Regions from separate parts of the Homo sapiens genome. Here regions 1, 2, 3 and 5 are each linked to region 4. The links are contacts of gene promoters, found by promoter capture Hi-C in blood cells and fetal thymus (Javierre and others, 2016). All regions are on one chromosome and are shown on one strand. Each heading gives the region's core, a stretch centred on a gene start or on the middle of the fragment in contact. The rest is flanking DNA. Distances are from core to core; before and after follow the strand shown. Region 1 overlaps ELMO1 (engulfment and cell motility 1). Region 2 overlaps ELMO1 (engulfment and cell motility 1). Region 3 overlaps ELMO1 (engulfment and cell motility 1). Region 4 holds the start of AOAH (acyloxyacyl hydrolase). Region 5 overlaps ELMO1 (engulfment and cell motility 1).

Evidence for each region. Contacts are between HindIII fragments. The CHiCAGO score rates a contact against its expected background, and 5 or more counts as called.
Region 1: a contact is called between a fragment that was not itself captured here and the fragment with the promoter of AOAH in region 4, in 1 of 17 cell types (M1 macrophages). The highest score is 6.0, in M1 macrophages.
Region 2: a fragment that was not itself captured here is called in contact with the fragment with the promoter of AOAH in region 4 in 1 of 17 cell types (naive CD8 T cells); the score reaches 5.2 in naive CD8 T cells.
Region 3: a fragment that was not itself captured here is called in contact with the fragment with the promoter of AOAH in region 4 in 1 of 17 cell types (total CD8 T cells); the score reaches 5.1 in total CD8 T cells.
Region 5: a fragment that was not itself captured here is called in contact with the fragment with the promoter of AOAH in region 4 in 1 of 17 cell types (total CD8 T cells); the score reaches 5.1 in total CD8 T cells.

Annotation. Positions count from the first base shown.
Region 1 is chr7:36,955,708-36,958,407 of GRCh38, reverse strand. All of the region lies in intron 16 of ELMO1 (engulfment and cell motility 1), which reads left to right. Among named protein-coding and RNA genes, the nearest start is that of MIR1200, 38 kb to the right of the region's middle. The HindIII fragment of the contact is 577 bases long and covers 1,159-1,735 here.
Region 2 is chr7:36,865,540-36,868,239 of GRCh38, reverse strand. All of the region lies in intron 20 of ELMO1 (engulfment and cell motility 1), which reads left to right. Among named protein-coding and RNA genes, the nearest start is that of MIR1200, 53 kb to the left of the region's middle. The HindIII fragment of the contact is 1,511 bases long and covers 686-2,196 here.
Region 3 is chr7:36,928,508-36,931,207 of GRCh38, reverse strand. The region is part of intron 16 of ELMO1 (engulfment and cell motility 1); the gene reads left to right. Among named protein-coding and RNA genes, the nearest start is that of MIR1200, 10 kb to the right of the region's middle. The HindIII fragment of the contact is 1,557 bases long and covers 500-2,056 here.
Region 4 is chr7:36,723,244-36,725,943 of GRCh38, reverse strand. It overlaps AOAH (acyloxyacyl hydrolase), which reads left to right and starts at 1,450. Exons shown (of 21, transcript NM_001637.4): 1 at 1,450-1,922. The coding sequence starts at 1,796. The HindIII fragment of the contact is 12,094 bases long and covers 1-2,700 here.
Region 5 is chr7:36,977,600-36,980,299 of GRCh38, reverse strand. The region is part of intron 16 of ELMO1 (engulfment and cell motility 1); the gene reads left to right. Among named protein-coding and RNA genes, the nearest start is that of ELMO1-AS1, 19 kb to the left of the region's middle. RefSeq lists a silencer at 1-189. The HindIII fragment of the contact is 942 bases long and covers 828-1,769 here.

The DNA of each region.
Region 1 (2,700 bases), core at 198-2,697, 230 kb before region 4:
GTGAATCAGCTAGAAAAATACAGTCAGATTTCAAACAGAACTAAGAACTCTCTTGTTAGTTAAGGTCATAAATTTAAATGAGACCAGACAGCACCATTGTATGCTTTTCTCCAGCCTGTTCGGCTGTTCAGGTGGGTGGAGGAGGCAGAGAATAGGATTTAAGCTAGGTTGGTTTTGCTAAGCAAATATGATAGAGAGAAGAGGTACTGGGGATGTATTCATGAATACAAAAGGAGAGATTATAATTATAATGGAATAGAAGTTAGGTAATGAGGAAAGTGAAGCCATGAATGGGGTGATGGACAAGGAAAAGGTGGCAATGTTAAGAGTCACAGCAGGATCAGAGAACTTTTGGAATGTGTTGCAGGTTGCAACTGATTGGAGCCAGCATTGTGGGTGGTAAAATAATTTACAAAGACAGTAGTAAGTTAAAGAAAGCAATGGGCAGCACAGCAGAGAAGGAGCTGTCTGCAAAGAGACAGGATCTGGAGGGAAGTTTTACAGGGTGGTGCCGGAGGGGCTACCTACAGATAAGCTTGTGCTGCTGGGGCTACATGCAAAGCGAGGTATTTGGGAACAGGATGTTGTGTCAGCAGGTTGTTGGTGGTTAGCCTTCTCTCAGAACAATTGTTCTCTCCACACTTGGGGCATCTTCCTTGTTGTTTACTTATCTTGTCAGGACTCCACAGAATGGGCATACTAGAGAGAGTGAATTGGAAAGACACAAGATGGTGCTTGTAAACTTACGACTTCAGCAATGGTTCTGTATTTTCAATGACAAAGCTTAGGCTACAGTCACAGCAAAAGCTGCTTTAGGAGATTATAAAGGACAAGACCTTTGGGTTGAGGAGGGTTGTGGAACTGAGAAGCTAGGTATTGGGTAGATCATCTGTGAGGATATTGAAGTTACTAAGAATGATGATAAAGAGAGGGAAGGGTAAGAAAATCGTCAATGAATTGTGGCATGACCAGGTGGAGAGTAAGTGTCATAAAGAGGGATAGTGGATAGTATAATGTCAGGCACCTCAAAGGAACTGGGCAGGGAGTTAGGGAGTAAAAAGGGCGGTGGTCTGGAAGCAGAAAGGAGGAGCAGTGGTCCAGTAGGGGCTGCAGAGCTGCAAGGCTTTGCCTCAATCCTGTCAAAGGCAACTTCAAGCTTTCCAGGAGCCATACTCCTTCATTTGTTCATTACTTTCTAGATTAGGAAATCACCACTCAGCGACTGGGGTCTTTGCCTGAATGTATTTCAGAATTACTAAGTTGGTTGAATGCTTCCACAAATACTGTTTTCATGGAGAGCACTTCATATTTACATTGGAAAAGAGCTGGTGCCATCCTCTCCACAGAAACAAGGCTGACAGCCCTTAAATAGCTTTGGCTATCTCTTGGGGAGATCACAGTTTGTGGGAAATCGACAACATTACCATGGAACATAACTTGGAAATGATATTTTTCTTTGCTCGCCACTGAGCATTTTGGACTTGGGAAACAGGCTACCAGAAGAGTAGTTATTGGGAAAGGGCAATCAACACGTGCTTTCCTTGGCTCATGATTTCTTGCCATTTTTTCCGGCGTTGTAATCAAACCTGTAGGCTACTGATTATTTACTCATTAAGTTCCACTTTCTCACTCTTCCCATTTCAAAGTAGTCATTTAAAAAATTGCCCGATCGATGATTTTTATATAGGAACAACATATTTTTTATGAAAGTCTTTTTCACAACTGCTAAGAAGCTTTGTCACTATAAGCTGTCACAAGATGGCATCACTTGGTAGTCTTCAAGTCTAATTAGTTTTCTTGTACGCCTGGGTGCATTTTTGAGCTATAAAATAAAACTTGTTGAATAAAGTGACCTTTTTTTTATATGCAGTCTAGCCTATTTTGGAATTGTCCTTTACAAACATATAACATGATGATTGATCAGATGGCATTTGGGTCTGAAATTACTTCTTGGATGTAGAAGAGAACAAGGCCTTGTTTTGAAAGTTTCTGACTTAATTATTTTATTTCAAAAAAGACAAGAAGGCATATGCAGAATTTGAAGGGAATTATAGATTCTGCCCTGACCAAGAGAAGGATAAGAAAATCATCAATGGATTGTGGCATGACCAAAAGCAGAATAAATAACATAAGGAAGGCTGTAGTCCCATGGCAGGCACCTCAAAGGAACTGGGCAGGAGGTTAGCAAGTGGAAAGGATAGTGGTCTGGAAGCAGAAAGCAGAAGCAAGAAGTACACCTATTCAGCCTCCAAGAAATATATGTAGCCTTCAGGACACCCTAGACAAGAAAAGGCTCTCAGAAAGGGAACAGGTATTGAGATAAATAAATTTGAGGTGGACACCTACTTTGCATCACGACACTGTGTTAAGACCTAGAGATCTAAACATGAAAAAGGGATCTTCTAAAGCATCGAGTGGTCTAGCAGAGGAGAGAGACATGGAATCCAGTAGCCCTGTTGAGTTAGCATTATACTGAAAAAGAGAAGTGAGAACAGTTTATCCTCTTGGGTGAGTAGGGAGCTGGGATCCTACAAAGAACAAGAATGGAGATATCTGAACTGGACTTTGAAAGATATCAAGAATTTACCACCCATTTTGGATAGGAATGGGCTAGAGGGTGTCAGGGAAGGAATTTAAAGATGAGGCAACAGCCTGAATAAAGGATTAAGGTCACGAATAGGGTAGACTTTGGGACCCTGG
Region 2 (2,700 bases), core at 192-2,691, 140 kb before region 4:
CAGATGTCCAAGAAGACATAATAATCCTTAACATGTCTGAACTTAACATGAAGATATCAAAATCCATGAGTTATGAAACTGATAGAACAGAAAGGAGAAATAAACAAATTCATTATTATTAATATATTGGAGACTTCAACTTCCCTTGGTCAGTAATCAGTAGACCAAGCAGGCAGAAGATCAAGAATATTGATGACCTGAACAGCACCATAAATCAGCTTGATCTAATTGACATTAATAGACTAATCCACTCAGCAACGGCAGAATACACATCCTTCACAAGCTCAAAGGAAACATTCACCAAGATAGACCACATTTTGGACCGTAAAGCATGTCTTAAAAAATTTAAAGAATAGCAGTTAGACAAAGTATGTTCTCAAATCACAATGGAATTAAACTAGAAATCAGCAGCAGAAAGACAGCTGGAAAATCCCCCAAATGTTTGGAAATTTAACAACACACTTGTAAATAACCCACAGTTCCAGGAAGAATTCCCAAGAGAAATTACAAAATGTTTCAAACTAAATAAAATGAAAATCCAGCTTACCAAAATGTGTGGGATGCAGTGAAGGCAGTGCTTAGAGGGAAATTTATAGCATTGAATGACTACATTAGAAAAGAAGAAAGAACGAAAATCAATAAAGCTTCCACCTCAGGACACTAAGGAAGGAGAGCAATTTAAGCTTAAAGCAAGCAGAAGAAAAGAAATATAAAATTTAGAGTAGAAATCAATGAAACTGAAATCAGTAGAGAAAATCAACAAAACCAAAAGCTGGTACTTTGAAAAGATGAATAAAATTGATAAACTTCTAGCCTGGCTAACCAAGAAAAAAATGAGAGTCACCCATATAACAGATGTGGAGATGATTTCATTTGAACATGTGAGGTAGTATATTTGGCCTTGTATCAGACTCCTCTCTCCTTAAAGGAGACTAAAAAAGTAAAACCGAGTAAATGATGTTTTGCAACCTTTATTTTTCACATATTGTCATGACACTCATAAAACATAGGATGGATGATGATGGATAGATGGATGATGGATGGACAGCTGGAGAATGATGGATGGATGGAGTACGCCACTGTAAACAGATAAGACTGCAAATAGAGGCTACTTCCTGGGACTCACTGGCCCGTATTTCTAGCTACCCTGGGCTCTTCCAGTCTGCCATGAGGGATAAGACTAGCAGAATTTCAAGCAGCCTGGCCCTTTAATTAGCATATACATGGAATTTACTTGTCTTGCAATGTTACTAGTGTTCATATATACCATGTCATCAAGCAAAACATCAAAAGGCAGAAGGAAAGCCACGATTTTACCTGCTGAACCCCCCAACCCACACCCCTTTCCCCGTACTCCAGAGGTGCCCTCCTGTCTACCTCTGGGACTTCTGGGTAGGAAAAGGGGACCTGCAGCCTAAAAGGAGAATTGACCAGAATGTGTTCATAAGAGGTCTGTCAGTACACAGTGGATGGATGACAACCAAGGCAAATTGCTGGCTCTTTGGACAGTTTTTCCAGCTGTGGAACAGCTTTTGACATTTTGTGCCATGAGACCCATGGTTAACTTAATCACCGAGCAAGGCAAACTGAGACATTGGCATCTGTAAAAGAGATACTTTGTTAATGGCAGAGTGTTGATAACTGATCATCCTCTCACCCATTCGGTCTCTGCTGATGTTCCCAGCAGGGCCCTGAGAACAGAAAGAAGAAAATTGGTCCTTTCCCTTGAGGTGTCTATTGCAGAGGCATTTGTTCATGTAGTCAGTCATCCACTCAGTCAGCATGGGAGTGCCTGAAATAGCACAGGACTAAATGGGGTAGCTGGGGTCCTGTCTTTCTGGAGCTTAGAGTCTGTTATGTTTAACAGAGTTCAGTGCAGCAGGCACATTTTTACGGAGACAAGAAATGGTGGGTTCTTCACACAGGGATCAGAAAGTTTCTCATTGAGACTTGAAAAGAATTGCCATGAGTAGATGGAAATTCAGTTGGAAGGTTTTGATTTGCAAGGATTAAGGATTCTAAATTCAAACTCTATAATTTATAAAAATAAGCTGATTTGTGGCTGTGTGCTTTAAGGTGGGCATTCTTGGTGCTTGTCTCACTGAATTTGGGGCTTTTAGGTCAACAGTCAACATGAAATCACCAGAGTGAAGATCCATTGATTCAGATAGGAGTATATTTGGTGTATGAGAAGCTTCCATCTTCCCATTTGCCAGAATTAAGCATTTGTTTTTCCAGTGTGATGCTTAAACCTGAAATAGGAAGCATATTCTACTGAAGCTGATGTTCTAGCATCAGTTTGAAAACCCTGGTCTTAGCCAAAAAGTCCTTTATTCACATTTACTTCATTCATCATCCATTCATTCATTCATTCAGCAATGTATTGAGCATCTCCTTTGTCCTAGGTGCCAGGAATCCAAAGATAAATATGACCTGGCCCCTGGCCCTAGGTGTCCAGTAGATAACATTTATATTTAAATATGCAATTACAATTCAATATGTCTATGCCAAAAAAAATTAAACATGGAGCCTGGGAGAGTTGAGAAAGGTGATGCAGGACATGGCATCTGATCTAGCTTTTGAAAAGGAATTGGCCAGGCAGAGAATGAGGAGAAGACTTTCCAAAAGGAGGAAAAAGTCTGAAAAGGCACAAGGGCCTTTGCTCATGTGAAAAGCATCCTCTAATTGGGAATGTTGAAT
Region 3 (2,700 bases), core at 29-2,528, 210 kb before region 4:
AGATTGACTCTCTGGGATAAATCCCGAAAAGCTGCCTTAAATGTTCTAAAGGAAGCACATTTTATTCCACATTTGTATCCATCCTTTTCATTCTAGCATGGTGCCCAATAAGCATGATAGTGACCAAAGCTTTCATCTTATTAAATTCTGTATTATTTTAGACTACATTTCTTAACTATCAAATTGACAAAAATGAATGAAGTGTAATAGGAAAGAAAGAAACTCTTATCCATTCTGACCGCTTTTGAGGACTGATGGAGGAAGAGATAGGAGACTGAAGGTGCGCATGTTCTCACCTCAAAGTTGAGTCTGAAAAGGTTCACTGAATTTTTCTGCGTGTCCCCTTTGTGCAGAAAGAGAGGAAGCATGTCTTTCTCACCCTAGAAAACATGCTTTGACCGTTTTTGCCCTTGCCTTATTGGAAAACAGCTGAAATTGTGAGTATGACATGTTTGGAATGATAGACTTTCTCACTAAGGGAGGAAAGCAGAGTCAAGCTTATTTTAAAAAATCAGTGAGGTGTTTCTAAAAACACAGCATTAAAAAATGATGTGCCTGAGCATGTTCTGTAGAAGATGATTTTATCCTATCTTAGAGGGTATTTCAATTATGACTACTCTTTTGAGGAGCAATGCCCCTGGAATACAGGAGTGAGTAACAGAGCACAGCATGTGGCTTGGGAGGCTTCCCACTAAATGCAACTCAGCAAATTAAAAGCATATGTAATTTTAATGACAGCCTAAGAGAAATGAACCTTCAAAGGTTAGGAAATTGTAGTTTTCATTTGAGGGAATTGCATGGAGCTAGACTTTCTACTCTTTTTATCTTAAAAAGGCACATCCAAAAATATTACAGTATATGAACATGGACTAAAATTCACTGAATCTGCCATTTGAAAGCAAGATACAGCTTTTGAATTAGCCTAACACTGGCTTGCTATTGATTTTGTTAACATAACTACATTGGGCCCAAAAAGCCACCTAACCATTTCTAGACACATCCAGAGGGCATAAGTATTCCCTGGCAAATAGTAGCTTGCCCATGGGCTGGGGAGACCCGTACACCAGGGTAGTCAGTTCAGTTGCATTTTATATAGGCAATGAGCTCATGACTCCTCAGTGACTGGATGTGTTTCCCAACTCTCTTTGATTTGCGTTGACCAGTGCTCCTCACAGTAGGGGTGCTACCTAATGACCAACATAATCTCTCAACATAATTTAGGGCCTTGTGGAGATGCACTATTTCATTAGGCCACTTGGATCTCATGGAGCAGCAGACTATTCATTTTCTCAATTGCTCCCGAAGGGATATGCAGAGCTGATGAACCTCTTTACTTATACTTTGGGAGTAACTCATGGACCGGACAAGCTCTGGCTTGTTTCCAGGGGACTCACTTGGGAGTAATGGTTTTCAAGTGCATTTGAAAGCCAGTACAATAGATTTGACCATCATAGACTTGAATATATAATATTTCAGTATACATCGCCAGCTATTTTCACATTGTGGTGTTACAGTGAGTCTAAGACATACTCTCTATAAAAGTCATCAGCTGCTTGACCCATTCATTGTTTATTTTTTCAACAAGTATTATATGAGTGCTGACCATTCTGGGCTGGGCCACACTAAACACTGAGCTGGAAGACCATAAAGCATGCTTAATAAAGGTTTGGAGGGTGGCATGTTGCCCCATTAAGAAATATTTATGTGATCATTTTAATCTCAGCTTAGAGAAATTTTCAATCTGATGCCTTGATGTGTATTTACCTGTGTCTTGATGTGCATTCCATCATATCTAATGCCTTGATGTGTATTTACCAATGCTTTGGTGTGCACTCCATCAGAAAACTCAGATTTGAGAGGCAGGAGACTTAACGGGGGAGTGACCCTAGGGAACTAAGAGGAGGTGGCAGCACTTGCACTTTCATGTGGAGCTTGACCCCACTTCTATGTGGATGAAAGAGTCAGTGCAGTGCTGGTGGTGCGGCCAGCCCCTGGACATCAGGAAGTAAGCCTGGCAGGAATCCATACCCCAATCTGTAGCTGCCTAGACCAAGCTTACCCCATTAGAGGCAGTACTAGAGAGTATGGGGCTTTGGTTCTAGCAGAGTCTGCTACTTGCTAGCCAGGTGCCCCGAGTAAAACTCTTAACCTCTCTCAACTGCCCTTTCTTAGTAATCTCCACTATTAGGGCAGATGCAGCATGTAGCTCAGTGGCTGGCCAGATAAAACTTCCATAGGTGATGGTTGCCCATGACTAGTGAGGTCATGCTGCTACCAGTCCCTCCTGTCTTTCTGGTCCCTTGTTGTGGGTGCACGTGCTGTGCAGCTCTTTGTGTGTCATATGCCACACTTTAGTACATTCTCACCTTTCAGAAAAGCTCCCTTTCACATTTAATCTAGTGGAAGAAGACCCCTAGTTCCTCAGCAGGACTGTCTGATTCCCTGAGGCCTCTCCCACAGCCCTGGTGGGTGGGATGACTGACTGCACTTTAGACCATAGGTAATAGTTACAGTCTGGCCTGGGAATGGGGCTGAGAGTTTACTCGGCCTGCTCCTTCAAGATGAGCATTGTTAACCAGGCAGTGGGAACCAAACAGAGCCTGAAATAGGGGTTGGTGTTATCTCTCTGTTGCAGGGTGTCGCTGCCCCTGATGCATTTCTTGTCAGTGCTTCTTGGATAGAAGGAAAAAAAACGATGGT
Region 4 (2,700 bases), core at 201-2,700:
GAAGATCACTTGAACCCAGGAGGTCAACACTGCAGTGAGCTGTGATCACACCACTGCACTCCAGCCTGGATGAAAAAGCAAGGCCCTGTCTCAAAAAACAAACAAACAACAACAACAACAACAAAAACAAGACACTGAAGGGGGGAAAGTTACATCACTGGTCTAATATATTACTCAGAATAAACAGTAGACATGAGACGTAAGCATGAGCCTTTCTGTCTTCACAATCTGAGTTCCTAATCAATCAGTCCTTTATTTAGCCTCCCTTGGAAGTCTCTGGAACTTCTCTAGGCCTCACCCCTGTGGTGGTCCTAGTGACCCCAGAGCTCCCCTTAGTCACAGAGTGAAGAACTGAAGCAGCAGCACCTTAGAGTCAGAGGAAGTCACAGGCCCATGGACGCCTAACGATATCCTCAGTATTGGGCTGGAAGTGTAATTAGGGAAACACTCTGACTTGTGCTATCTCTGCAGCAGGTTTGGGAATTGTAGCCCCATCGGTGCTTGTAAGACTAATGACTGCACAAGAAATCTTCCAACCATAAAAACTGGTATTTCCTACATCCTGGAAAGGATGCTACTCTAAAACTTTGCCTGCTACTCCAAATGCTATTTTTTTTAATTGCTAACAATTTAGATAGCTTCTATAATATTTCAAAATTTGTAATAAGCTCCCTCAGAGCCTAAGCAGAGAGAAACAGAATCTCATGACCTCCTACACTTACCTAGACTGTGGTACTTTGGCCCTGTCCTCTTATCTTGACTGAGAATGGCATATGATTTTGTTTTATCTTATTTTAGAGAGAAACATTTAGATTATATGTCTTTTATCTATGATCTGGTTCCGATTTTTTTTTTCCCTCAGAAAGACAGTGTTCAGTTCTATTCTTCAGAGCAGAAAATCAGTCTCTTAACAAATCATCCACAAAATGCACTTCGAAATTCTGGAGAAAAAAAAGATGCATTGTGCACAGCCTAGCAACTGTGAATTGATTAATTCTAACCCATGTTTTTTCTCATTAGGTCTAAAATCCCACCATGCTAACTGCCCATTATTTTCTGTACTGTTTATTTTCTGCACACCAAATAAAAGGCCTTGACCCTTCAAGGAATAACCCAATTTCTCCAGAGGAAAGATATTATTTGACCAGAATATCCTTTTACAACAAAATAAGGATCACAACCTTACCATATAAAGCTGTTGAAAACAAGACTAAGTAAGTTCTGAATGTAACCAATTAGAATTTCTACAATATGTGGGTGCTGCTGATCAAATTGTTAAAGGGTTGTGTGCTTGTGGATTAGTTTTTTTTTTCTTTTTTCTTCTCAGTTTTGGCTTTAGTATCGTTTTGTTTTGTTTTGCAAGAATGAAAGGGGAAGGGCCTCCTAACCAACCCAACAGATCAGTTCCGGCAAGCCTCGAGGCTCACGGGGTTTATGCACACTAACTTCACTGAGCCAGGGAGCACGGAAGTTGTGCCACTGTGCAACTTGGGTTTTCTTTATCCTGCAGTCTTTACCTCAGCAGAACCGCACACCACAGACTCCCTCCAGCTCTTTGTGTGTGGCTCTCTCAGGGTCCAACAAGAGCAAGCTGTGGGTCTGTGAGTGTTTATGTGTGCTTTTATTCACTTCACACTTATTGAAAAGTGTGTATGTGAGAGGGTGGGGTGTGTGTGTCAAAGAGAGTGAGGAAGAGAAGGAGAGAGAGATCAATTGATTCTGCAGCCTCAGCTCCAGCATCCCTCAGTTGGGAGCTTCCAAAGCCGGGTGATCACTTGGGGTGCATAGCTCGGAGATGCAGTCCCCCTGGAAAATCCTTACGGTGGCGCCTCTATTCTTGCTCCTGTCTCTTCAGTCCTCGGCCTCTCCAGCCAACGATGACCAGTCCAGGCCCAGCCTCTCGAATGGGCACACCTGTGTAGGTATGCAAATAAATATTTTTGTATTTTCTATGTAGACATAACAATGGGATCCAGTACTTTGCTTGCGTAATAAATCACATATTTTATTAAATCAAGAATTGTAAGATTCCAGGTAAGGCACCAGTAACCTCACTGACACAGAGAAATGTGGAGTCTAAGAGTAGACATTGACACTACATACATCTATGTGAATAAAAAGCATACTAGTTTAAATTGGGCATAAAACTCTTCCACCTCATTGGCGATTGGAATTTTTTCTTCTTGTATAGGTAACTATTATTTCAGGCTATTTTAGTCTGAAATTTTTACTGCTTTTCATGGGCTTTGACCTCATATAAACACATCTGAGTTTGAATCACTGCCCTCCTCCTACCCTTCTCTCCCATTTCCTACTGGCTGTGGAAACCTGGAGCAATGTACTTAACCCTCTCCATGCTTCTGTGTCCTTATTGGTGAACTGAAGTGAGTGAGACCCATCTCATAGGGATACCATGGAAATTGTGACCATGCATGTAAATCTGTGGCATGTGCACACAGTAAGGACTCAACCATCTTAGCTTCCTTCCGTCTCTCAGAGAATCCAGATTTGGCGATCACCTGGAGACGCTGAGCGTTGATATGGCTTCTTGGCTCATCTGTTAATGAAGTGTTTTATTTCCAAGAGGTTTTTTTTGTTTGTTTTTTTTGGATGAGAGCAGGAAGTAAGGTAAGATCTTTGATATTCACATTGTAGCTCTCATAACATGGGAATTCTCATAATAGTGGTGGCATTTAGATG
Region 5 (2,700 bases), core at 49-2,548, 250 kb before region 4:
CAGAATTGTCTTACAGCTGAAACTGATTTTTCATCCCTCTCTTATGTCCTTGCCTCAGCTCAGTGCCTTGTGCAAGACTTTGAAAAGAAGCATACAGGGAATTATCATCAGTATGCAGGGTTTTGGTGATAAGGCAGACAGCTCTTTACTCATCCTCTTGCTCAGCTGTTCCGTGGAGGTGTTGCCATCTGACAAGGAGGGCTGCAGCCTTGCGCTTTGGGAGCTAACTTCTCTTTTCCTTTGAGCTGTAAGTGATGAGAGACCTGTCAAGGAGAGCTGTTCACTGGCATCATTCCCAGACCTGGAAGTATAATGAAATAAAGTTTCTTTCCAACTTGGTTGGAATTCTTGCAGCTGAATATTTAAGATAGCATCTGGGGCAGTTCTGACGTCCACTTGCCTGGTTGGAAAGAAACACCCATGAGCTAATGGAACTCAGGCCTTCACACTGGTAGCCCAAGTCAGGGCTGCTCTGGGCAACTCAGTTCTAACTAGAGTCATCTAGGCCACAGGTCCCAGCAGGTGAGATGGAGCCCCCTCCTTGCCTAATGAGCCAGCAATTTGAAGTCCGCATTTCAGAAACTTTGTCATATACAAAGAGGGATATCAAAGCAGGAGCTGGTTTGAAAACCACCAACATTGGCACTGTCCCTAGACCTAGACTACTTAATGCTAAAGGTTCCAGGGCACTCTTTCTAGTACCATGAGGGTAGTAGCAGAGCCACACCTTTTAGCTTTAGAGATTGATGGGGGACAAGGGATGACAGCCGCGTCCTAGATTCCCTGAGCCAGCGTCAAATATCTGGGCAAAGTAGGCGTAAGAAGCTTTGCAAAGACCACCTTATGAGCCATGCTTCTGTCCCCTCTAAAATTTTCTGAGAACTGGGTAGAGGGACTCCTTAATCTCTGTGAACCTTAGCTTCCTCATCTGTAGAAAGGGAAGAAGGTACATTTCCCATGAGGCTGTTAACAAATGAAAATATAAATGATGTATGTGTGAGTGATTAGTAAATTATAATATGTATGGGAGGGGAAAATAGTCTGATTCCATCCCTTGGGTAGAAGCCATTTATTTTTCATGTCTCACAGAATGTCTAGTTCTGCTCTTTTGCCATGGAAGTTTCTCTCTACTTTCAGATTATTCTCCTAAATAATCCTCAGGCACTACCCCAACCCTCTAGCATTAAAGGCCACCCAGAGAGAAAGGCACTACACTTACAAGCCAGGGCCTGGGTCAAGTTTCAGCATAGCCACCAAGTAAGATTTAGGTTTCGCCATGTTGCCCCTTCAATCTTTAGTATTTTTTCTCCTGGATAAAAATATAGATCTTATTGACTCTACCTGGTACATAGAAATGTTTAGAGAGCACATTTATTAATATATCCCATGTACTCTGTGGATTGTAAAATAAGGGCTTACTATTATGCTTCAAATCTAATATCTCCTAACAACTCATCCTTGTTTATTGAGGAGGAATAATTGGAAACCTATTTCTAGGGTAGCAAAAGCTCCAGAATGTGGAGCTACAGTGATGTGTATGTAGTTTCCTGGTTTTGGAAGCCAGTCAACATCAAATGATATTGTGCTTCTAGGGAGATGCCTGGCGGCATTCAAGAAGGCTGTGACCTGCCATAAATAATCGGTGGCTTTTACATTTGTAAGTCAAGATGTTCTTGGTCTCAGCAGATGGCCCATAAATCTTTCTGGATAGCTGAGCTTTAGCCATCCTACCCCAACTCTTTCTTCTTCTTGAAGGCATAATGAAAGCTTTGAGAAACATGTACATTTTTGGTTCTTTCACATGCAGGTTCCCAGCCACTTCTTGATGACTTTCTTCTCCACACCCCCTGCACTCCCGCCGGCCATGCACTTCATACCCATGATGTATTCTGTCAAGAGAGGAGAAGGGGTGATTTCTTTCTCTGTCACATCTGGACATCTATTTACTGTGAACTTATAGCATCCTAGATCTTGAAGTAACCTGAGTCCTAGGATGTCAGATAGATTTCATCTGGTGACAACTTAGGTCCCCTGGTGTGGCTTCCTGGGGCTCTACCTCTGGGCTCCATGAGCCAACAGGGAGTGAGGGGAGGGTAGTAGCATGCAGTTACCTTATTACAGGTAAAGAAAGTGAGGTTCAGAAACATTCATTGACTTGCTAATATCCACTGTTAACAAGAGACAAAGTTCACATTTTCTTGCTCAATTTATTCAACAATCAATGTTTGCTGAATGCCAACCCTGTATCAGGTACTGTTCTAGGCCTTGGGATTCCCAGCTGTGAGTATATATGGATTAACCTGCATGGAGATTTATTTTTCAGGCAATCATTAGCCTCAGAGTTGGAATTCCCCAGAATATGGAAGCTACAATAAGAAAAAAATTCAACAAACCACATTTATTTATGTATTCACTAAGTCATCTGTGTATTCACCTATGCATTCATTTCCATGCCTGTTTACCTGACGAAAATTTATCCACTTTCAAAAACTGGGCCCTTGTAAGAGTTGTTTGAAAACTACTTGAAAGTAATCGGTGAAAACAAATTGTCCAACAGCTATCTTTGCCTTCCGCCCTCCTTCCCCTCTAAACACCTAAGAGAAACTGAACTGTAAAAACAAATTCAAGAGGTGTAGCTATCCTAGTTTCACAAAGCAACCTCCAAGGAGAAACCTGGGCGGACCAAATTTTTTCTACTTT